7 separate regions of the Homo sapiens genome follow, and all the other regions are linked to region 1. The links are contacts of gene promoters, found by promoter capture Hi-C in blood cells and fetal thymus (Javierre and others, 2016). All regions are on one chromosome and are shown on one strand. Each heading gives the region's core, a stretch centred on a gene start or on the middle of the fragment in contact. The rest is flanking DNA. Distances are from core to core; before and after follow the strand shown.

What was found. Contacts are between HindIII fragments. The CHiCAGO score rates a contact against its expected background, and 5 or more counts as called.
Region 2: the fragment with the promoter of PSMC6 here is called in contact with the fragment with the promoter of PTGER2 in region 1 in 12 of 17 cell types (megakaryocytes, monocytes, naive CD8 T cells and 9 more); the score reaches 11.0 in megakaryocytes.
Region 3: a fragment that was not itself captured here is called in contact with the fragment with the promoter of PTGER2 in region 1 in 1 of 17 cell types (megakaryocytes); the score reaches 5.7 in megakaryocytes.
Region 4: a fragment that was not itself captured here is called in contact with the fragment with the promoter of PTGER2 in region 1 in 1 of 17 cell types (megakaryocytes); the score reaches 5.5 in megakaryocytes.
Region 5: a fragment that was not itself captured here is called in contact with the fragment with the promoter of PTGER2 in region 1 in 2 of 17 cell types (megakaryocytes and total CD8 T cells); the score reaches 6.1 in megakaryocytes.
Region 6: a fragment that was not itself captured here is called in contact with the fragment with the promoter of PTGER2 in region 1 in 3 of 17 cell types (megakaryocytes, monocytes and total B cells); the score reaches 5.7 in megakaryocytes.
Region 7: a contact is called between a fragment that was not itself captured here and the fragment with the promoter of PTGER2 in region 1, in 1 of 17 cell types (megakaryocytes). The highest score is 7.2, in megakaryocytes.

What each region holds. Positions count from the first base shown.
Region 1 is chr14:52,312,420-52,315,635 of GRCh38, forward strand. PTGER2 (prostaglandin E receptor 2) reads left to right here and starts at 1,893. Exons shown (of 2, transcript NM_000956.4): 1 at 1,893-2,972. The coding sequence starts at 2,130. RefSeq lists enhancers at 1,123-1,683, 1,684-2,243, 2,478-2,627, 2,648-2,787 and a silencer at 1,848-1,957. The HindIII fragment of the contact is 17,361 bases long and covers 1-3,216 here.
Region 2 is chr14:52,705,680-52,709,144 of GRCh38, forward strand. PSMC6 (proteasome 26S subunit, ATPase 6) reads left to right here and starts at 1,521. Exons shown (of 14, transcript NM_002806.5): 1 at 1,521-1,625; 2 at 2,630-2,709; 3 at 2,804-2,843; 4 at 3,085-3,137. The coding sequence starts at 1,541. RefSeq lists enhancers at 1,072-1,181, 1,202-1,261, 1,562-1,811, 1,832-1,881. The HindIII fragment of the contact is 4,351 bases long and covers 820-3,465 here.
Region 3 is chr14:52,813,468-52,817,146 of GRCh38, forward strand. The region is part of intron 1 of LOC105370500 (a long non-coding RNA gene); the gene reads left to right. Among named protein-coding and RNA genes, the nearest start is that of GNPNAT1, 24 kb to the left of the region's middle. The HindIII fragment of the contact is 645 bases long and covers 1,507-2,151 here.
Region 4 is chr14:52,765,483-52,768,769 of GRCh38, forward strand. The region is part of intron 9 of STYX (serine/threonine/tyrosine interacting protein); the gene reads left to right. Among named protein-coding and RNA genes, the nearest start is that of GNPNAT1, 24 kb to the right of the region's middle. The HindIII fragment of the contact is 4,705 bases long and covers 1-3,287 here.
Region 5 is chr14:52,666,608-52,670,321 of GRCh38, forward strand. The region is part of intron 6 of ERO1A (endoplasmic reticulum oxidoreductase 1 alpha); the gene reads right to left. Among named protein-coding and RNA genes, the nearest start is that of ERO1A, 27 kb to the right of the region's middle. The HindIII fragment of the contact is 170 bases long and covers 1,192-1,361 here.
Region 6 is chr14:52,743,265-52,746,670 of GRCh38, forward strand. STYX (serine/threonine/tyrosine interacting protein) reads left to right here. Exons shown (of 11, transcript NM_145251.4): 2 at 1,588-1,620; 3 at 3,162-3,215. Among named protein-coding and RNA genes, the nearest start is that of STYX, 15 kb to the left of the region's middle. The HindIII fragment of the contact is 1,326 bases long and covers 1,404-2,729 here.
Region 7 is chr14:52,721,936-52,725,474 of GRCh38, forward strand. It overlaps PSMC6 (proteasome 26S subunit, ATPase 6), which reads left to right. Exons shown (of 14, transcript NM_002806.5): 13 at 2,030-2,101. Among named protein-coding and RNA genes, the nearest start is that of STYX, 6.5 kb to the right of the region's middle. The HindIII fragment of the contact is 818 bases long and covers 1,230-2,047 here.

The DNA.
Region 1 (3,216 bases), core at 643-3,142:
TAGGAAGACAAGGGGGCAGGGGCCTGGGGGAGGATCTTCAACTGCACTCTTGCTCTCGTATTCACAAAAACCAGGGGCCGGCCTGCCACCAGGTACCCATCCAAAGAAAAGCTAGAGACAAATATATAGGAAAGGTTAAATAGTAGGTTTTTGTTGTGAGGGGCCTTATGAAAATTAAAAAGGTATAAAAATATTCGGAAAATAAGCACTGTGCAAATTCAGTGAATCTAAAATCCCTTATTTAATAGTAAAACTGCAGTGCAGAATTATGCTATAAATCATAGTGTTTTCCTATTAAGAAATACTTCTGATTTAAGTTTGATGTTTCCCCATTGCTTGGGGTGAGATGGGGGAATGTTGGAGTAGGGGAATAGTCAGAGATGGATGGCAAAGATTGGTAATAAGTTGTTACTGACCTGCAGAGTTTACAGCTTGAAAGAAAAACTGTAGGAGTTAAGATCCTCTTTCCTAGGAATCCATGCCATGAGAAGTTTAGGGATTGAAGTAGTGCCTGCTGACATGTGAAAACCGGCCTGTAAACTTTGCAAGCGATCCAGTAAATTATGCTTGTTCTAGTGGGAACCACCCCCCCCAACTCCGCATTCCAATCCCCAGGCCAGAATCATCAAAGTTGGCAAAAAATATTCATGGAGAGTAAGCAGGCTGTAGCAAGATAGGCTCTTCAGCAGGCAATCTTTGCTTCCTCCCACGTTATGACTGTCTTTCTTGCCAGTTCCCTAGGCAGATCAGACCCTTCACTTCCCAGTTGGCCTCCCTTCCCCAAGTGAATGTGACTTCTTACAGAACACAATTACCTATGTTGTCTGCCAAACTGGATTTTGTTTTGTTTTGTTTTGTGTTAAATATCAGCCCATTTTCACGACTCTGCAATTATGACAATATGTGGTAGGAAACCATTACTGTCAGCTCCAGTCTGAAACTGGCCACTTACCAATACACTTTGCCAGGAACAAGTCTTTCTGGATGGATACTACGTGGTTAACAACATGTAAAGATAAACGGCTAAACAAAATATCAACATTTTCTTACAAGGCTCAGCTTAAGGACAGAACAGTGATGTGCAATGGTTTTCATGTTGTATCCACAAACACAATTCTGTATAAGACACACTCCTCTTTTTTTAATGGTTGCTTAAACAAGTGGTTATCCGTTATGCTGTTGACATAGGAAACGGTGAAATGCTAGTAACCGAATCAAAGCGGCAGTGCAACAGGCCGCTCGGTGGTGCGCATTGTGTGGTTTGGTTCCTTGGATGGACACACTTGCTTTACGCTTCATCCCAATTTTTGTCCCAACCTCTTAGTGTATCTTCCTGGGAATAGTAAAAACAAAGCAAAACATTCTGGTCTTACTTCAAGCTGCCTTTGCACTGTTATTCCCTTGTTCCGCTCATTTCACGGGATTGGGTTCTCCTAACTTCATTGTTTGGTGAGTTGCTTTGCTTTGCTCGTTGCCCCGATCTTCTGTGTATTCTGCGCAGACCCCGCAAGTGCTCCTGCACTCCCTCCCAGCCCTCTGCTGGGGCTTAACGCTTCCCAGCCGAGGTCAGACTGCCGTGCGCTTCGAGTACCGGACCCCGAGGAAGCGAGAAACGCCGCTCCCGCCGGTCGCGGGCAGCTTCAGTACACCGGCAACACGCGCGCCTCTGCCCAGTGCCGCGCCCAGCGGGTGCTCAGACTCCTTCTCTCCCTCCCCGCCGGCGCGCCCCAGGGACTCGGAACGCCCCCGCGAGTGTGACGCGTCCTGCCTCCCCTGCAGCTCGCGGACACTCGCACTTGCAAGGCCTGGCCAGCACTCTTGGGCCCGCCCCCCGACAGTGCGGGGGCGGAGACGACGGCTCCCCTAGGCTCTGGCTCCCGGCCTTGGCCGGCGCGGGTAGGCGCGGGAGCCTCGAGCGCCGCTCGGATGCAGCAGCCGAGCCGCCACTCGGCGCGCGGCGGGAGACCCAGGGCAAGCCGCCGTCGGCGCGCTGGGTGCGGGAAGGGGGCTCTGGATTTCGGTCCCTCCCCTTTTTCCTCTGAGTCTCGGAACGCTCCGGCTCTCAGACCCTCTTCCTCCCAGGTAAAGGCCGGGAGAGGAGGGCGCATCTCTTTTCCAGGCACCCCACCATGGGCAATGCCTCCAATGACTCCCAGTCTGAGGACTGCGAGACGCGACAGTGGCTTCCCCCAGGCGAAAGCCCAGCCATCAGCTCCGTCATGTTCTCGGCCGGGGTGCTGGGGAACCTCATAGCACTGGCGCTGCTGGCGCGCCGCTGGCGGGGGGACGTGGGGTGCAGCGCCGGCCGCAGGAGCTCCCTCTCCTTGTTCCACGTGCTGGTGACCGAGCTGGTGTTCACCGACCTGCTCGGGACCTGCCTCATCAGCCCAGTGGTACTGGCTTCGTACGCGCGGAACCAGACCCTGGTGGCACTGGCGCCCGAGAGCCGCGCGTGCACCTACTTCGCTTTCGCCATGACCTTCTTCAGCCTGGCCACGATGCTCATGCTCTTCGCCATGGCCCTGGAGCGCTACCTCTCGATCGGGCACCCCTACTTCTACCAGCGCCGCGTCTCGCGCTCCGGGGGCCTGGCCGTGCTGCCTGTCATCTATGCAGTCTCCCTGCTCTTCTGCTCGCTGCCGCTGCTGGACTATGGGCAGTACGTCCAGTACTGCCCCGGGACCTGGTGCTTCATCCGGCACGGGCGGACCGCTTACCTGCAGCTGTACGCCACCCTGCTGCTGCTTCTCATTGTCTCGGTGCTCGCCTGCAACTTCAGTGTCATTCTCAACCTCATCCGCATGCACCGCCGAAGCCGGAGAAGCCGCTGCGGACCTTCCCTGGGCAGTGGCCGGGGCGGCCCCGGGGCCCGCAGGAGAGGGGAAAGGGTGTCCATGGCGGAGGAGACGGACCACCTCATTCTCCTGGCTATCATGACCATCACCTTCGCCGTCTGCTCCTTGCCTTTCACGGTAAGTCACTCCCTACGTTTCCACAGCCCGGCTCTGCTCAGCCTTCTCATGCTCTCCCCTGACGCCTCCACCCTTTCCACCGCCCTACAAACTTTTTGCAACTTGTAAAAATATGTCCTAATTTGTAAAGATCTGTAGCCTTCCCCACTAGTTTCCCCTCCTCTTTAGCCCACTTCCTTATCCTGGCTTATGGGCGTTGCTAGGCTAGAGTTTCTTATACAATAATACAGACCGTCCGAAAGGG
Region 2 (3,465 bases), core at 271-2,770, 390 kb after region 1:
ATTATTATGATCATTTTACAGAGATATTGAGGGAGTATGTAATTTTCCCCAAATCACAAAAATCTGAAAGTTGGCCAGGCGTCGTGGCTCACGCCTGTAATCCCAACACTTTGGGAGGCTGAGGCGGGCGGATCACTTGAGGTCAGTAGTTGGAGACCAGCCTGGCCAACATGGTGAAACCCCATTCCTACTGAAAATACAAAAATGAGCCGGGCGTGGTGGCGGGCGCCTGTAATCCCAGCTTCTCAGGAGGGTGAGGCACGACAATCGCTTGAACCCGGGAGGCAGAGGTTGCAGTGAGCCAAGATCGCACCACTACACTGCAGCCTGGGTGACAGAGTGAGACACAGACTCAAAAAAAAAAAAAAAAAAAAAAAAATCTGGCCGGGCGCAGTGCCTCACACCTGTAATCCTAGCACTTTGGGAGGCTGAGGAGGGTGGATCACCTGAAGTCAGCAGTTCGAGACCAGCATGGCCAACATGGCGAAACCCCGTCTCTACTAAAAATACAAAAATTAGCCGGTTGTGGTGGCGCACACCTGTAATGCCAGCTACTCCGGAGGCTGAGGAAGGAGAATTGCTTGAACCCGGGAGGTGGAGGTTGCAGTGAGCTGAGATCGCGTCACCGCTCCAGCCTGTGCGGCAGGAGCAAGACTCCATCTCAAAAGTAAATAAATAAATACATAAATCTGAAGGTTCTATCAGACTTCAAAGTTCCTGCCTCAGCCTACTTCAGCATCTTTATCTTGTACCCCACATCTCTACAACCCACCCCCTACTGGTCTCATTGGCCTCCTTTCTGTTCCTGGAAGTGAGTCAAGCTTTCTACCCACAACCCCCACCCCACTCCACTCCAGGACTTGCACTGTTTGTTTAGGTTTTCTTCAGTTGTTGCAAGGCTGGCTCCTTCTCATCTCAGATATCTGTTCTAGATTAATTCTTCCCACCATACTTCTCACCGTGTTTTAATTCCTTCACAGTATTTGTTAAACTCTGAAGTTTTTTTTATTATTATTTCCTATCAAATGATAAGCAGATCTACCTTTAATACCTCATTCACTGACTGAATGGATGAATAAAACTGTCTACTTCTCCAGCACGTGGAGGTCTTGGACAGTACTGTGTTATAACAAAGGCCATCTGTGTTGTGTCGACAGGCCATCGGAACTCCTTTGAGGTATTACACATTTCCTACTTCACTTCCATCTCAGTTTATTACAGAGCCTTTTATACTTCCGGGACAGCAGTGACTTAATACTGAGGCCTCTCAGGGGAAGACCGGGATAACTGAGTCCTGCTTTACCTATCTCGGCTTGCAAGAAACGGTATAGGTGGAGGCCTCTTTCAGTGTATGCCGGCGCTCTAGGTGAACCGAGACATAGAGGTGGAAGTGGAGTAGAAAGACGGGGCCAACCGGAAGGGGAGGGCTCATGGGCGAACCCACCCCTCCAGGCAGGGTTTCGCCCCTCGCCCCGCCCCTTCCCCCGCCCGGACGGCCATGGCCATTCCCGGCATCCCCTATGAGAGACGGCTTCTCATCATGGCGGACCCTAGAGATAAGGCGCTTCAGGACTACCGCAAGAAGTTGCTTGAACACAAGGAGATCGACGGCCGTCTTAAGGAGTGTGAGTGCACCTTTCTTTCCATTTAATCAAGTGCCTCGACTCGCTTCTGCCTCTGACAAAGCAGAAGCCTTTCGCCGAGCCCGGCAACCGAGCCTTAGAGATGACCAGGCCTAGGGCCAGGGACAAGGCGCTTTGTCATCCGGCCCTGAGCTTGTGGAGCAGCACTCCTTCGGGTGTAGAAATGGCCCAGTCCAGCCCGGGTGACAGAACATCGGCGGCCTTGAGGTGAAAATGAAAAAGAAGTAGAGGAGGAGTGGGGAAGTGGGCCGAGGATGTTTCCCAGGTTAGGGTGCAAGAAGGGCAGTCTTGGTGGAGTCCCGGGACTTGGAGAGGGGAAGGCGCTTGAGTCAAGTAAGCTCAAACAAGAGATGAGACTCAGGGAGTCGGCTTGTTCTTGGAGTCGAAAGACGGCCGCGGAGCTTAAGAGAGAAGTGTTCCAGTTGTCATAATAACCCATATCGTCTTGTGTTTCGTGTTGTACTGTATCAGGCATACAAATTTCCCTTACCTCCTGAGTGCTTAACTTTTTTTTCCAGTGCATTTTCATTGAAAAGCATGAGTAGTTTAATTAAATGGAGGACCATAATTACATGATTCTGTGGAGAACTGCATTTGTTGACTTTATTTAGGGTAGAATGTCAGAGAACAATCCACGTGGGTAGGTGAAGAGGTGAGGAAGGGTCTAAGTGATTATCATTCGGATTTGTAGTCGCAAATCCTAAGTGTCAGGGTGTCAATATCTTCTAAGACTATAACTTAAGATGTGCTTAAACAAGTATTGCCGATCAACAAAGTAAAAGTATGGTGCTTTCTCTGTAACATTTTGTTGTTATACATGCCACCTACTCATTACAAACAGCATTATTTCTTTTATGGTTTGAAACAGTGGATGTGAAACTTAGGTAAAGTGAAGTAGACTTACGTAAACAGTAAAGTGAGACGTAGCGACTTAAACACACTAAGATTACTGTTCAATTAAAAATGTTCAAATTGTATTATTTCAGTAAGGGAACAATTAAAAGAACTTACCAAGCAGTATGAAAAGTCTGAAAATGATCTGAAGGCCCTACAGAGTGTTGGGCAGGTAGGTGATGGAGTTTGGGGAATAGGGGGTGATGGTAATTTGCTTTTTTATTTAGCTGTTGCCAAAAAGTAATGCTTTTTATTTTCTTCCTTAGATCGTGGGTGAAGTGCTTAAACAGTTAACTGAAGAAAAATGTGAGTGATGAATTAGCTTATTAATTAGTAAAGAAACAGTCCACCTCTCTCTCACTTTTGAAATGCTTATTATTTTAATGACAATAATGCAGAGAGAGAGAGTATTTTTGAATAGACTTAAGTTTTCCTTCAACTAATGTCTCCTTGGAGGACAGAAATACAACTAAACCCTCTGTCAACGTGGGTATGTATTTTTTTACTTTCTATTTTTCAATTAGTTCTTTTATGTTTTTTCTTCTAGTCATTGTTAAAGCTACCAATGGACCAAGATATGTTGTGGGTTGTCGTCGACAGGTAATACTTTATATTTGTATAGTGCCTGATGATTGACAAAGCAGTTTCATGTAAGTTATTGTCTCTAATTCTTGAGGCAAGCAGGTGGAGCATTTATGCCCATAACTCACAAGGATGATTTGTTCAGACATAGCTAGTTATTAACAAAGCCTGAATTCAAACCATGGGCTTTGACTCCTGGCATTCCGTACTTTCTACTGTATTACATTGTCTCAGTCAGATCTGTTAATAGCCACTTAGAAATAAAAGTATTTTAGAACTGGAAAACAGACATTTTATTTTAATGTCATTTTTAAAGAGGACTTAAAAGTGTTAGATATCATCAGTT
Region 3 (3,679 bases), core at 579-3,078, 500 kb after region 1:
TAGTAGAGACGGGGTTTCACCGTGTTAGCCAGAATGGTCTCGATCTCCTGACCTCGTGATCTGCCTGCCTCAGCCTCCCAAAGTGCTGGGATTACAGGCGTGAGCCACCGCGCCCAGCCGACACATGTTTTGTTTCTAATATTAATCTTGGATTTGTGAGATATACCCATCCTGGTAATGGGTATATCTTTCTTACATGCTGTCAGCTTCCATTTTCTAACTGAACTTATTTAGGATTTTCAATATTAAGATTTTCAATGTTGCTATAATTGTTCCTCTAGTCTTAGATTGTAGTAATATATTGATATATTATGAGATACAGCTTGTCAAATTACACAAAAATAAGACAGAAACTTTGGAGATTGATTAAAATTACACTGAATCTATAGATCAATTTGAGAAGAATTGGCTTTAAAAAATATTGTTTTTCTATATCCTTGTTGATTTTATGTATTATGTAAGTATATATGTATTTAAGACAGGGTCTGACTCTGTCGCCCAGGCTGGAGTACAGTGGCATGATCATAGCTCACTGCAGCCTCAAACTCCTGGGTTCAACTGATCCTCCCACCTTGGCCTCCCAAAACACTGGGATTACAGGCGTGAGCCACCTGCCCAGCTGATTTTATCTTTTTGTCTGCTTGACCTATCACTAAGAAATAGATGTTAACATCTCTCATTATGATTGTGGGATTTGTCTCTAATTCCTCTCTTTCTTGGATTTGGATTATTTTTATCATATCTAGTGACGCTTTTATCTCTAGTAATGCTTTTGCCTTAAAATATTGCTTTTTTCTTATATTAATAGATCTATGCTACCTTTTTTTTGTTGAGTATTTGCCTGCTATTCTCTTCCTTACTGTTTTCAACTTTTCTATATTATTGTTTTGAGCTATACCTTTTAAGAAGACTGAAAGAATTCAGTTAAACCTTGTTTTGTTACTGTAAAACAGGTGTCCCACATAAACATTAGCAATAATGGCTTGTGATAAAACATGCTTTTTCCTTCAAAATAGTTTTCTTGTTTTATATTTAGTTTTGGAGGTTGGTACAACATAGGGAAGACAATAGAAAGTAATTGAGTATATTATTATAGAATCCAATAAAGAAAATAAAAAGTATAAGAATGGCCAGGCACGGTGGCTCATGCGTGTAATCCCAGCACTTTGGGAGGCTGAAGCGGGTGGATCACCTGAGGTTGGGGGTTCGAGACCAGCCTAACCAACATAGAGAAACCCCGTCTCTACTAAAAATACAAAATTAGCTGGGTGTGGTGGTGCATGCCTGTAATCCTAGCTACTCGGGAGGCTGAGGCAGGAGAATTGCTTGAATCTGAGAGAAAGAGGTTGCAGTGAGCTGAGATCGTGCCATTGCACTCCAGCCTGGGCAACAAGAGCAAAACTCTGTCTTAAAAAATAAATAAATAAAAAAGTGTAAGAACTTTAAAAAGATCAAGCTGTGGAAGTGACTTTAGATGAAATCAGATCTTTTTTTTATTTGCCTCTAAGCTTCGTTAGAGTGTGTCTAGAATAGCCTTTACTGTAGGGCTAGTTTAGCTTTTATTTTAAGCCCTGATCCTTCTGGGGTTTTTATTGATTGCCCTATGGCTCAGTGAGGTCTCTCTGGCTCAGTAGGATTTGAGCACCTCTTAGTCCTCTGTGCTCTGAGAATTGTTCAGTTTCTAGCCTCTGGCAATTGTTCTTTGCCCAGTGTGTGGAGTTTCACTCTATGAATATGCAGACTGGTTATTCAGCCAGAGACCTAAGAAGACCCCTGTGTCAATTTCGGGAGCTCTTTCTCTGTGTAGCTTCCTCCTCTCTGGTACTTTACCCTACAGATTCCAGCTCTCTCACATCCCACAGATCCAGTCTCTAGCTCCTTAATTTAATGACGCCATTGTGCTTTCTTTAGGTTTTTCTTCCCTGTCCTCTAAGCTCAAAGTTGTCCCTAGATAAGAAGCTGGGGCAATTGAAAGGTTCATCTTGTTTTCCCTCTCTTAAAGTTCAGTCTTTCCCTGCCTGTTGTCACAGTATGAGAAAACAGTTGTTTCATATCTTTGGTCCAGTTTTCTTGTTGTTTACCATAGGAGAGGATGTTCTGTACCAGTTACTTCATGGTCAGTAGTGGAGCTCAGCATCTTTACAATGAGGAAGCTTACAGCCCCTGTATATTTATTTAGGTCTTATTTGATCTCTCCATGTATGTCTTACGCAGCTAGTTTTAGATTTATTTCCACATCTTCATGCTTTTATGCCATTAGAAATTGTATCATTCTAAAATTTTATTTTCTACCTACTAATTGCCAGTATAAAGAAAAAAATTAATTGTGTATATTGATTTTTCTATCCAGTAACCTTGTTGATAGTGTATTATTTTGGATTATAAATATCATTTTAGAATAACGATAGCTTTGTTTCTTTATTTCCAATCCTTACATATTTTTTCTTACCATATTTCTTTTTTTTAATTTTTAATTCATTAATTTTATTTTTTCTTTTTTGAGACGGAGTCTTGCTCTGTTGTCCAGGCTGGAGTGCAGTGGCGCGATCTTCTCTCACTGCAAGCTCTGCCTCCCAGGTTCACACCATTCTCCTGCCTCAGCCTCCCGAGTAGCTGGGACTACAGGTGCCCGCCACCACGCCCGGCTAATTGTTTTTGTATTTTTAGTAGAGACGGGGTTTCACTGTTAGCCAGGATGGTTTCAATCTCCTGACCTCGTGATCCACCCGCCTTGGCCTCCCAAAGTGCTGGGATTACAGGCTTGAGCCACTGCGCCTGGCCTCCTTGCCCTATTTCATTGGGTAAGAGTCTATTTATTTCAGGCCAGGCACAATGGCTTACGCCTGTAATCGCAGCATTTTGGGAAGTGGAGGTGGGTGGATTGCTTGAGCTCAGGAGTTCAAGACCAGCCTAGGCCACATGGCAAACCTGTCTCTACAAAAAAACAAAACAAAAAAAAAATTAGCCAGGTGTGGTGGCCTGCTCCCGTAGTCCCCCCTACTTGGGAGATTGAGGTGGGAGGATTCCTTGAGCCTGGGAGATTGAGGCTGCAATGAGCCAAGAGTGTGCCCCTGTATTCCAACCTGGGTGACAGAGAAAGACCCTGTGTCAAAAGAAAAAAAAAATCTATTTCTTTTTAGCTAAGATTTTTTGAAGTCATAAATAGATACTGAATTTTATTAAATGCTTTTTTCTGTATTTATTGAGATACTTGTATGATTTTTCACTTCAATATGTTAATGTAGTGAATTACTGTTTTTTTAAAAAAGTGAAGCCAATCTGTGCTTCTAAAATAAACCCAACTTGGTTACATCATATTTTCCTTTTTTTATACATTGCTTGATTTGATTTGCTATTATTTTGCTTACGATTTTTATATATATGTTTGCGAATGAGATTGGTGGATAATTATCTTTTCTCCTTTTCTTGTAAGTTTTGCACTAACATGCTATGCTATCCCTTGAAACAATTAGGAATTATTTATTTCTTGAATATTTGATAAAATTTGCTTAGTAAGCCATCCAGGATTTCTATTTGTTCAATTTCTTTTTCCCTTCTTTATTGAATTCTTTTGAATTGATTGAGGTTTCTGGAATAATCATTACATGTTTTCCCCTTTGGATTTTATAAGCACACTGTTTCTGTTCTTTAGGGGTTACTAGAAGTTTCAACGTGCATG
Region 4 (3,287 bases), core at 15-2,514, 450 kb after region 1:
TTGGGATTACAGGTGTGAGCCACCGTGCCTGGCCTAAATATTGTTTTAGAGAAGTTTGAAGGCAGACCAATTTTAAGATTCCCCCCTTAGGTGAATTGATTTGTATCAGGAGAAGGTTGTCTAGATCAGCAGTCTCCAACCTTTTTCACACCAAGGACCAGTTTCATGAAAGACAATTTTTCCACGGATGGGGTGGCGGGGGAGATGGTTTCAGGACAAAACTGTTCTATATCAGATCATCAGGCATTAGTTAAGGAGTGTGCAACCTAGATCCCTCGCATACCATAGGGAGGGATAGGTTTACCATAGGGTTTGCGCTCCTGTGAGACTCTAATGCTGCTGTTGATCTGAGAGGAGGTGGTGCTCAGATGGTAATGCTCCCTGGAGTGCCACTCACCTCCTGCTGTGTGGCCTGGTTCCTGACAGGCGATGGACCGATTCTGGGGTCTGCAGTCCAGGGGTGGGGACCCTCATCTAGATGACCATAAGATGCTTTATCAAGGTGTATCCTGGTTTTTTATGTTTTTGTTTTTTGAGGGGGTCTCGCACTGTCACCCAGGCTACAGTGCAGTGGCGCGATCATGGTTCACTGTAGCCTTGACCTCCTGGGCTCAAGTGATCTTCCCACCCTAGCTTCCTAAGTAGCTGGGACCATGGGTGCACACTATCACACCTGGCTAAGTTTTTTGTTTGTTGTTGTTTGAGACAAAGTCTCACTCTGTTGCCCAAGTTAGAGTGCAATGGGGCAATCTTGGCTCACTGCAACCTCTGCCTCCTGGGTTAAAGCGATTCTTCTGCCTCAGTCTCCCAAGTTGCCAGGATTACAGGCATGTGCCACCAAACTCAGCTAATTTTTGTATTTTTTGTAGAGAGACAGGGTTTCACCATGTAAGCCAGGCTGGTCTGGAACTGCTGACCTCAGGTGATCTGCCTGCCTCGGCCTCCCAAAGTGCTGGGATTACGACGTGAGACCACACACCTGGCTTAGTTTTTTAAATTATTTTTGGTAGAGATGGGGTTTTGCCATATTTTCCAGGTTGGTCTCAAACTCCTGGGCTCAAGCGATCCTCCCACCTTGGCCTCACAAGGTGCTGGGATTACAGGCATGAGCCACTATATCCGGCCAAGATGTATCTTGTTGATTGCTCTACATCAGTTTTTTTCTGAGTCACAGTGTGCCCTTACCACTTGCAAATTCAAGCCTTCCCTGATTTCAGGAAAGTTGTCTTCTATTGTGTATTTACCCTTTTGGTTGTTCTGTTTCTTTTTCTTTTTAGTATACCCCTTACCCCGGTATAGTTTATGTTCCCTTTTTTCTTTGTTATTTGCTATTTTCTCTGTAATTATTTGCAGCTTTGTTCTTTTTTTTTTTTCCACTTGATTTTTCTCACGTTTGTTTTCCATGTCCCATGCTGCATTGTTTCATTAAATATTTATTTGGCATTGTTTTAGTTAGGCACTGACAGTAAAGCAGAGAACAAAACAGACAATAATCCTTGACCTCACGAAACTTATTTAGTGGGAGAATCAGACAACAAACAAAATGTAGTAGGCCAGAAGTAATGAATCCAAGAAAAATAAGGCCATGTAAGGAAGGTGGGACGAGAATTGTATTTTTAGAAGGGTGGTCAGAAATGGGCTTACTGAAAAGTGATATTTGAGCAAAGACCTAAAGAGATGCACGTATTTGGGGAAAAGCATTTGAGGTAGAGGAATAAGTGTAAGTGGTTTGAGGTGGGAGCATAGTTCTTAGAAGGATACTCATTTCATCATAGGGCCAGTCCTCTCATGACCTCATCCCAACTTAATCACCTGCCAAAGTCCCCACATTAAGTGTTTGGACTTCAACATATGAATTATGAGGGGAATGCAAACATTCAATCCCATAACTGCCATATTTTCTTTGATTAATTTGTTCATAGTTTTCATCTGCTTCATGGTATAAGTTTTATGGCATTTTCTTTATGACATTTGGTTATACTCTTGCTTTTCTGTTTTTGTTTTGTTTTGTTTTGTTTTTTCTTGCAAAATCTTTGAGTAAGACCTAACTGGTTCCTTCTTGATTATTGGTCATCTTTGAACTGGAGGTATTCGTCTTAGATCAGCTATTTACCCAAGAATAAAATTGTGGGAAAGGGGCCAGAGGAGTGGTTGGGGAAGGCTGACAGCTTGAATTTTCCCAGGTTCCTTTGGTGGCATGAATCAGTGAGTAAGAAGCAGAGCTCCTTATATCACAGGTTTATTTTGTTTAAATTGATAAACACTGATTCATATTAGAATCACCTGGGGAATCCTTACCCATGCCAATGAAATCAAAATCTGTGAGAGTGGGGCCTAGGTATATAGGTTTTAAAGTGCCTCAGGTGATTCTCATGTATATCCAGGCTAGAATTGCTGATTTAGCCTTTACTTTTAGCTATCCAAGATCAACTGATGCTTGGCTACATGCAACCAAATTTCACTTCCGCCTTACCATACTTAAACAGCCTGCTGCTTGCAAAAAATGGCAGGTGTAGGTGTTCACATTTTCCTTAATATGTCCCACCTTCTCCCATAGGCCACTCATATTTCCTGACTTTGTCATACCATGCAAGGGCTTGTTGGTTTTATTTTAGGTCACCTTTTTTAGCGAGCTATGAACTGTACCTACTCTGGCCCACAGAGGAGTTATCTGCTATGCCTAGCTTAGGATGGTTCTATTTTTTTTGAAAATTTTATTGTGAAATTATAATATAGAAAATGCATAAAATGTAAATAAACATCCATGTAACTATTGCCGAAGTATGGAAACAGAATGTTTACCAGGACACCAAAAGCCTTTTTCATGCCGCTTCTCAGGCACAAATCTGTTTCTCCCTCTGTAAAGTAACCACTATCCTGACGTAGCTGGTAATCAATTCCTTTTCCCCTCATTCTTCTCATTTTCAGGGTAATGGATGTTTCCTAGTTTCATCAAATGTTTTCCTTGTTTTCAGAAAAGAGAGAAACAAAAATGCCTTTATTCTTCTATCTATAACTGGAAGCAGAGGACTATTGAGATTGCCAATTTAAGTTTTTGGTGTTTTTTGGGGTTTTTTTAAACAGATGAAGTCAGAGATCATTATAGCTAATGCCATACTGACTGGCAGTTCAGCATGCAGTACCCTAGCACAAACTATTAGCCGGGCTTGATTTATAGTTATCAGTAGTTCTGAATTTATGAGACAGGAATTTTAAACTTCCATTTCTCTTCAAACAATATGGCACTAGATTTTTCAATACAGATGAAGAATACCAACAGTGTATAC
Region 5 (3,714 bases), core at 27-2,526, 350 kb after region 1:
AGGAATTTTAAAACAACTTTTCAGGAGAAACAAAGGAAGGAGGCCGGGTGTGGTGCCTCACACCTGTAATCCCAGCACTTTGGGAGGCCAAGGTGGGCGGATCACTTGAGGTCAGGAGTTCGAATCCAGCCTGGCCAACATAGTGAAACCCTGTCTCTACTAAAAATACAAAAATTAGCCGGGCGTGGTGGTGCACGCCTGTAGTCCCAGCTACTCGAGAGGCTGCAACAGGAGAATCACTTGAACCCGGGAGGCGGAGGTTGCAGTGAGCCGAGATTGCGCCACTGTGCTCCAGCTTGGGTGACAGAGCGAGACTCCGTCTCAGAAAAGAAAGGAAGGAAAAGAGAGAGAAACACACACAGCCACATTAATTGTACACACTGGCTACAAAAACATTATGATTTAGGAATTGTAAAAATAGGAATACGTGAATTTTAGAATCAAAGAAACATGGTAATTCAATTATCATAAGCTATTCAGACAAAGAATATAACATACATTTCCCTCCACATTAACCACAGCAGTTCATCAATAACTACAGTAAATGAAGGAGTGTTAGTATTGTACACTGCGTGTTACCAAATACTTTCTTCTTAGATGACCACCAGCAGATCCAATCTGGCCAAAAGCAAAAGTTACAATGCAGCATGATTCTGTGTCAACATTATTTATAAAAGGGAAAATTGGAAGCAACCTAAACATCCAACATCACAGAACAGCCAGAGCATGGGCTCTGGAGCCAGAACACCCAGGCTAGAATCCAGACCCTGTTACTTATTTATCATTTATAATGTGTTATAACTTCAAAACAAAAAAGATGGTCGGTCCCAGGGTGGGCACGATGGTTCATGCCTGTAATCCCAGCATTCTCGGAGGCCTGGGGGCAGACTGCTTGAGCCCAGGAGTGATTCTAAAATTCACAGGCAACCTGGTGAAACACCAGGCATCAATAAAAAATACAAAAATTAGCCAGGCATCATGGCACGTGCCTGTGGTCCCAGCTACCCAGGAGGCTGAGGTGGGAAAGTCACTTGAGCCCAGGAGGTCCAGGCTGCAGTGAGCCGTGATTGCACCACGGCACTCCAGCCTGGGCAACACAGTGAGACTGTGTCTCAAAAAAAGATGGGCCATAGTCCTCCAGTGGCTTTGGGAAATTATTTGGTACTATAATAATACTTTATTCATATATAAAGCTTAACAGTATGAGCCAACAAAGAATTAAAAAGTGGACAAAAACGGTCTCAATGCAACCAAAGTCAATAACAAAAATATGAGCACAAAAGTGCTTAGAGTCCATCAAGCTCTCAACTATACCTATTTTTATTATTAAAAAAAAACCACAAAAACAAAAAAAAACCCTAAGCTTGGTTATTTTTTACTCCAATTCACAGTATATTAGAAGCATAAATTAGGGGGAAATTTGCTTCTAGAAGCAGTACAATGACGGCATCTTAAAATAGCAGAGTTCAATGCAGAAGTGGCAATTAAAATAACTAGAAAAACAAAATATAAGGACTTAAAAAACAAATTAGCATGGAATCATCTAGTTCAGGAATGGATAACTGTTCATTTCAATTAATACTAAAGGCAAGTGCCACATATAAATTATAATAAATTCATTTTTTAAACCCTGATGTTTAAAATATATAAACAGCAGGCCAGGCATGGTGGCTCACGCCTGTAATCCCAGAACTTTGGGAGGCTGAGGCGGGTGGATCACATGAAGTCAGGAGTTCGAGACCAGCCTGACCAACATGGAGAAACCCCATCTCTACTAAAAATACAAAATTAGCCGGGCATGGTGATGCATGCCTGTAATCCCAGCTACTCGGGAGGCTGAGGCAGGAGAATCGCTTGAACCCGGGAGACAGAGGTTACAGTGAGCTGAGATCACACCATTGCACTCCAGCCTGGGCAACGAGAATGAAACTCTGCCTCGGAAAAAAAATAAAAATAAAAATGAAATAAAATAAAATACATAAACAACGGTCAGTATCCAGGACTTTGAGAAAACTAACCACCAAGAAATGATTAAATTTTTAAATATTCTACCTAGAGATAAACATTTGTTGCCTCATAATTCTACTTATTATAAATACTTCATTCTTCTTCAAGCTTATAAAAAATAAATATTACTATATTATTATATTACAAATCTTATAATTATACTATAATTATAATTATAATTATACAATTATATTTGAAGTAATACTATAATTATATTAAATATTACTATAATTATATTTGTGCCAAGAATTTTTATGATGCGCTGGTTCCTATCACTGAATAGAACCTGAAGTTTTTCATAGAAAACTAGTCAAACATGTTTTGTAAAATCTAAGAAAAGACATTTAAGAGCCCATTTGGCCCTTATAGGAAAATGCCAATATCCAGCCCTAGAAGCAGAAAACATGCGTTCTGCAAAACCTATATGATATGCTGTTTTCTATCACTGAATAGAACCTGTTTTTGACAAAAGCTCAAATTTCCAATTAGGATTTTAAAAATACTTTCTATATTTCACGTACCATTTACATCCATTATTTATTCCTGCTAAAGCTTTCTTTAAAATATTCAGCTTTTTTTAACAGAAGACACTAATACAAATGGGCAAGTGATTCACCAAACTCTACCATATAAGAAATGAATCATTGATTCTCACCTGGTGCTGCACATTGTAGTCACAAAAGGATGTTAATTAAGGTTAAAATATTACCATCCTTTTTCTAACAGTGGAGGACTAAAAAAAATTATAGCTGCATACTATAAATTTAGTTTTATCTCACAACAATATTTAAGGTAAAAAAAAAATCCTTGTAGAAAAGATGGCAAAATAAGGGAGTTGGGAGAACATCTTATCCCCTTCCTTCACTAGTCCAAATCTTGATATAGGTCTATACCCCTCATCCAACATGCCTGGGACCATGCGTGTCTCGGCTGGAATGAACTTTCCAGATTTTACAAAGGTAATACAGTACATGCAACATATATCGCATATTACTCCAGCTGGACCTGGGGGAGCAATCTTTATTCAAACACGTAAATATTTCTACAGTGAAACATATACTCACACTAAATGAGCCTCTGCTAAACGCAGGGGGAGAAATGTTCAGTTTTCAGAGTTTCCAGATTTTAGAATTGGAAATAAGGAATTATAACTAAGTATATACCAAAACATGGCTACGGTTTCCATTAAGGAAAGCAATTTTCCCCAAAAAGAAGCCACAAAATTAAAAATACTTTCTCTTTTATGGAGATTGTAGGCTGCATCTTTGGCTTATAATTAAAAGAATTTATATCACTGTTTTCACTAATTTTTTGTTGTGTTGTTTTGAGAAAGGGTCTCACTCTGTCCTAGGCTTGGAGTACAGTGGTGCAATCAGAGCTCACTCCAGCCTCAACCCCCTGGATCAAGCAATCCTCCCACTCCCCGAGTAGCTGGGACTACTGGCACACACCACCAGGCCTGGCTAATTTTTGTATTGTTTGTAGAGACAGAGTTTTGCCATGTTGCCCAGGCTAGGCTCAGCAATCTTCCCTCCTTGGCCTCCCAAAGTGCTGGGATTATAGGCATAAGCCAACAAGCCAGGCCCGTTTTCACTAATTTTTGAAAGAGCGTTAGTCCACTAGAAAAGAGCCACAGAAGAATACCAAGACTCAATTTGATTTATTTTTTTTAGTGAATTAAGAGGCTAACAATTCAACTTAGAAAAA
Region 6 (3,406 bases), core at 817-3,316, 430 kb after region 1:
CTATTTCTACCTTCTGTGTTAAAAATACTTTTCTGGGCCGGGGGCAGTAGCTCACTCCCGAAATCCCAGCACTTTGGGAGGCCGAGGCGGGCAGATCACGAGGTCAGGAGATCAAGACCATCTTGGCTAACACGGTGAAACCCCGTCTCTACTAAAAGCACACAAAAAAATTATGGCGTGGTGGTGGGTGCCTGTAGTCCCAGCTACTCGGGAGGCTGAGGCAGGAGAATGGTGTGAACCCGGGAGACGGAGCTTGCATTGAGCCGAGATCGCGCCACTGCACTCCAACCTGGATGACAGTGTAAGACTCGGTCTCAAAAAATAAAAAAATAAAAAAAATACTTTTCTGACTTAGAGAATCTGGGTGAAGGGTAAATGGAATTCCTTGTACTATTTTTGCAACTTTTCTATAATCCTAAAATTGTTTCAAAATAAAAGGTTAAAAAAATATTTTCCAGACTACTTCAGAAACCTAATTACTAATAATAATTCTGAGTTTTAAGCAACCAACTTAGAAACTTTTGGAATGCAGTCAACCCACTGACAAATGAGGACTATCTGTACTATAGTATTTTTTTAGACGGGGTCTCAGTCTGTCACCCTAGCTGGAGTGGTGGGGTGATCTCAGCTCATTGCAACCTCTGCCTCCCAGGCTCAAGCGATCTTCCCACCTCAGCCTCCTGTGTAGATGGGATTACAGGCAGGCTCCACCATGCCCAACGAATTTTTTTGTATTTTTAGTAGAGAAGGGGTTTCACCCTGTTTCCCAGGCTGGTCTCAAACTCCTGAGCTCAAGCAATCTGCCTGCCTCGGCATCCCAAAGTGCTGGGATTACAGACATGAGCCACAGAGCCTGGCCTTTTAGTCTATTTCGATTCTTCATTTCAATTCACTATACTTTTTTTCTAAGTTTTAAAATATTTTTTATCTTTTACCATTGACATTTTGTGTTGTTTTACAGCTTCTTTATATTGGTCTGCATTCCAAAGACAAAATGAAGTCTCTTATGTTTTGTGATATGTGTTAAAATAATTGAACTAGACAAGAATGTTAGGCCCAAGTGAGATGAAGGAAAGGCTCTTTGATAAGCATTTGGCATTTTAGATCAGAGATGGCAAGTACGTATGACATAGCATTCTTCTTTTATCCATTTCAGATATTATTTGTTGATCAGACACTCTTCTTCCTGTCTTGGACCACACAGTGTTTTAGGTATCTGCTGTCAGTTGATTAGAGTTGGCATGAGAAACAAAAAAAATCTATTGGCATCTCTGACTTAGAAGATCAGTTTTGGGAGAATCTTCTGGAATATCTATTCTATTCTTAAGTTTAATGAGTAATTTCATCCATTTTATGAAGTAACATAACAATTCTGGAAGCCTAGTTATTTAAAGAATGCTTTAAGCTTTGTTTCTTGTCACTTCAATTTTCAGATGTTTGTGAAACCAAGTCTGCTATTTTAATAAAATGTTCTTAAAGTATAATGTAACTTTAAAAAATCTACATACTTGTGTGTCACATCTTTAGCCTTTAATTGGGTGACTTTTTAAATGTTATCTACTTTTATTCTTATGTTTTCCTTCCCAGGAGTGGACCTACCCTATGAGACGAGAGATGCAGGTATGGCAACCTTTTCTTTGTTCAAACCAACCCATGTTATTATCATAATAAGAACCTTAGTTTATAGGATTTGAGACCTGCTGATTTCATGATCTGTAGGTTCATCATTATGTATTTTAAATAATTATTTTAAATATTTAAGGTTAATCTTGGATCTTAAAACGATGGGAAATTAGAAAGAGGAACGTAGTAATAGGTGTATGTGCTTAATGAGTCACTTTCTCTTGGTTTTTTTTTTGTTTTTTTTTTTTTTGAAACAGAGTTTCGCTCTTGTTGCCCAGGCTAGAGTGCAATGGCACGATCTCGGCTCACCGCAACGTCCACCTCCCGGGTTCAAGTGATTCTCCTGCCTCAGCCTCCCGAGTAGCTGGGATTACAGGCATGCGCCACCACACCCAGCTAATTTTGTATTTTTAGTAGAGACAGGGTTTCTCCTTGTTCAGGCTGGTCTCACACTCCTGACCTCAGGTGATCCAGTGACCTCAGGTGATCCACCCACCTTGGCCTCCCAAAGTGCTGGGATTACAGGCATGAGCCACCGTGCCTGGCCAATGAGTCACTTTCTTTTTCCTCACGTGAAAAATTGGATACTTTCTTTGTATTCCTTTTGAAAGCAGTTTGCTTTCTCTGTTTGTCTAGATAAGTTAGGGAGAGTTGTCTGTACAGCAAATAAGCATTGTTCATTTTGTGTCCGATTTTTAATCAACTTCCACAATTAAGTCTTCTAGAAGATCAAATTGAATACTTTCAGTTTGGAATGAATTAAACGATAGCTAACCCTCATAGCAGTTCATTTTCTTTTGCATTTCATACCATTTACCGTCAAGTCTGTTTGCCCCAGGATTAAGCAGTATCTTGTTCCTGGGAATCCCATGACTTCTAAAAATCTGTTACTTTTCTCTCTTAATGAAAGTTCACTTTGAAAAAATAGGTGAGTACCTATGAGGCATTTTACTTGGTGTTAGGAGGAATGCAAAGATGACTAAATGTAATTTCTGCCCACAAAAGCCTGGTGGAAGAAATCAGTTTTATATACAAATAATTATGACTTATAGAACTGAACTATAAAGTTACTGTTAGTATCTAGGGTATGATATATCCAGACTGAAAGCTTTCTGTATTGAATTTACATAAAATAAATTTGAATTCAACATCTGGAAGGTACATACTTGTTGAAATTTTGTCAACTGGCAAATATTTGAATTTGGAATTTTTATGTTACAGTAATAATTTGCTTCTATTAACTATAGATAATAGTTTTAGGTCAGGCACAGGAGTTCATGTCTGTAATTCCAGCCGTTTGGGAGGCTGAGGCAGAAGGATCACTAGAGCCCAGGAGTTCCTTATCAGCCTGGGCAACATAGTGAGACTTCGTCTCTATTTTTTAAAGAAAAAAAAAAAGATTAAAAAAATAGATAATAGTTCCAATCTTGTTGTATCTTGTGCTGCTTTTGATTTGGCCAAATAAGGTTTGTCTTATTTATATAGCCTTATAGATTTAAATTGCTGATGGTAAATACCTCAAATTTTTTTTTTTCTAGGAAATTTTACCTGGATTGTTCTTAGGCCCATATTCATCTGCTATGAAAAGCAAGGTATGAACTTTGTTAGATTCATCAAGAGAGACTTTTATTAACCAACTTTTCTTGGGTAAGTTTTTTAGTAATAAAGAGTTTTATTTTAGGGAGCATCCACAAATACTGTCTGTTAACAGTAATTGTCACTCTGGAGTACCTTCCTCTTTCCCTATTTTACTAGACCAGTAGTTCTCAAGTGTTTCACCACA
Region 7 (3,539 bases), core at 389-2,888, 410 kb after region 1:
TTTTGTAGGGATGGGGTTTCACCATGTTGCCCAGGCTGATCTTGAACTACTGGGCTCAAGCAATCTGCCCACCTCGGCCACCCAAAGTTCTGGGATAACAGGCGTGTGCCACTGCACCCGGCCTGGTTGTTTGTTTGTTTGTTTTTTAAATTGATTCCTGTTAAATGCTGACAATAGGTCAGATAAAGAGTTCTCAGAGTAGACCTTTGGATTTAACTATATGGAGGTCATTGGTAATCTTGTCAAAAGTAGCTTCTTGGGAGTGGTGGAGGTGAAAGCCTATTTCAGATGGGTTTCAGAGAGATTGGGAGGAGAGGCATTGAGTTTAGACATTTCTTTTAAGAGTTCTACAGAGGGGGCAGAAGAAGTAGAAGGGGAATGCCGATGAGGAGTTGGCAGAGTTTTCTATAAGATGGAAGAGTTTATGACCCCCCTGCCCTTTTTTTTTTTTTTTTAATAATGCTACTGGGAATGACCTAGGAGAAAGAGAAATTGGCAATGTTCTTTCCTTGAAGAGGGATTGGCCCTATATATATGTGTACTTTTATGAGACTGGAGGAAAGGCAGAGTACATAGATGCTTATGATGACAGGTTCTTAGATAGTGCAGGAACTTGTGGAAGTGTTTTTTTCTGAATGCTTCTGTTTTCTCAGTGAAGTAGAATGCACGTTCAGAATGAAGATAGGGAAGTGTTCTTAGAGATTTGAGGACAAAGGAGAAGGTATAAAGTCATTATCTATGGAAGTGAGGGATTGGACTAGGGTGCAGGCCAGTAAAACATGGCTTGTGAACCAAATTCTGCCTGCCCTGTGTTTTTGGAAACACACAAAGTTTTGTTGTAACCCAAGCATGCTCATTTATCTGTTGTCTATGGCTGCTTTCCTACTGGAATAGCTGAGTTGAATAGTTACAACAGAAACCATATGGCTTGCAAAGCATACAGTATTTACTCTCTGGCCCTTTACATAAAAAGTTTGCTGACCTCCAGACTAGGGAAATCTAGTATAATTTCCAGGCAGCCTTAAAAACTCTTTAGAAGTTAATGGTCCAGAATAATGACAAATAGCTGATTGTTGAATTTCACTATCTTCATTGCCCCTGTTAGAGAGTTTTGAGCTGGAAAGACCGAACTGAACAAAGGATGTCAATGTATAGGTTTCTTCCACAAATACTGAGCTCTTGCTAGATGCCAGATACTGTGCTAGCCTTGGGAATTCTTGCTCTCAGGAAGCTTACAATGAACTTAAACCTGATTAAAGACAATTCATGAATATATGTGTGATTTCAAATAGAGAACGACATGCCCTATATTGCCTGACCAAACGGTGCATCATCAAAGTTATTCAAACTGTAGTAGCCTGTGCTGTCTTACTTCTCTTCCTATTCTGTATCAGATCCATTGTTGCTACCCCAATCCTATAGCTCTTTGATTCATGTCTGTTATGTGGGTGGATGGAGAACTCACTTTATTACTGCTACCATAGATCTGATACTTCACCACTTGAATCTTGCACAGAAACCAGAGAAGCTAGCTAATGCATGCTGTAGCATTTAAAAATTCCATGTGATACAATTATGTATGATTACATTTCAGTTTTGCTATACTTTATATTTGGCTTGTATGATTAAAGTAAACAAAGTAAATTCCATTGTTATAATTGGTTTTGAGTGTTATAGGTTTATTCAAATCCAAGATTTGATTACAGTTTTGATAAGAGTCACAGCTTAACAGGTATCTGGAGTTCACATGTGCATAGCTATTTCACTGTATAAAAATAGATTAAGATATTTTGAGATTTTGGTGATATTTCCTGTTTTTAAAGTTTCAGGGGTGTGTCTAATTCTTCTTGGTGCTGGTTTATTTAACAGAAGTCTTAGTTTTTGGATATTAATATTGTGGAAAGTTAACAGAGCTGATGTCTAGCTGATCAAACTCAAAGTAAGCTCTTCAGTTTAAATTTTCGATGTGGGCATAAATCAAGTAAAGGTCTAATTTTTAAAACTAATTTCCAGTATTTTTTCTAAACAGATTATGAAGCAATTGTGAAGCTTTCGGATGGCTTTAATGGAGCAGATCTGAGAAATGTTTGTACTGAAGCAGGTAAGGGTTTAAAGTACAGTTTTACTATTGATTTTGATTTTTAAAATTTGCTGAAACTGTTTTGAGTTTATCTGAAAGCGGAGCATAGACTTTGCAAGGATTTGGGTTCATGCTGTTCTTTTAGGAATCGATTCCAGGAAATAGGAGAAGCAGGGCAAGTGAGATGGAAAGAGGGAAAGCTAATATGAGGGTGCACCATTGAGGTAGGTGCTGTAGGAAAGGGAGGTTAGATCTCAGAGAAGCATACAGAATGCCTTCCAGGATCACCCAGCTGAAAGTTGGGAGACTAGAACATTGATTTACCAGTACTCATCCCCCATTGGATGAGATTTGTCCTTGGTAGTGTTGACTCCTTTGCACTTCTACCTGCCTTAGGGCAGAATGTGGAAGGAGAGGCATGTAATAGAACACTGGCCCCCTAAAGTAAGTCTGAGGTGCTACAGAATTGCCTACCACACCTGTGGCTGGAATTAGAATGGGCCAGCACCAGAGGTATCTGCTGCAAAATGAATTGTGTATGTTGTCTAATACTAGTCTGTGAGCAGTGTTTTGAAAGATTGATTTATGAATTATGTGATCATGCCATTTGTGTAAAATGTAGTATTTAAATATAATTCTCTGTGGATTGTGTGATACTATTTTTTTCACTTCTACATGGTATGTAAAAATTGTGTGATGCTATTTTTATTTCCAGTACCAAGTAGCTTTAATACCCTACCTAGAATCATTTAGTTTTTGTCTTCCATACAGAATCTTTAAATAGAAAAAATAAACTTCTACAGTATAGTTACTGACTTTATAGGTTATAGATTTTCTTAAGTATTAGAATATGTGATTTCCTCTTGCTTTTCATATCATGTTTAGCCTTAGTAAATTCAACACAGTGTTTAAAGTGGCTGCTCAGGGAGGGCTTCTCAGTACAGGTATCTTCATGGGTATTGGGTATGCTGTGAGTCAGTATCTGCATCAGATATGCAGGTCAGATACTTCTGTTCACGTCTAGAAATGCTGTCAATGCAAATTAGGGTAAATCATGCTCACAGAGCGTTATCAATAAACTAAACTATTTAGAGGTAAACTGTCATATAGCTTGAACAAGTTAGAGTAATTTATGACATTCTCTTTCCAAAATGTAAACCAGACCAAATTATTATCAGAAGATTGCTTTGGTTAGATTGTAATCCAAATGCAAGCTGTGCAGTGAACCTAAAGGCTGTTGCTATCAAAATATACGCTTTTTTTCCTTACATATTCTTACAAATTTACCTTTAGTTATTGCAAATGAGCTATAACTTCTGTGTGGATTAAAATTGTAGTTCTTTTTTAACTAGGTGGGACATTCACATCTGGAAACATACTGAAATTTTTATCTTCTTTTTAGACTTGAAGGCTTTTTTGTTAACATTTTTCGTAAGTTAAAATACACTTGATTCAACTA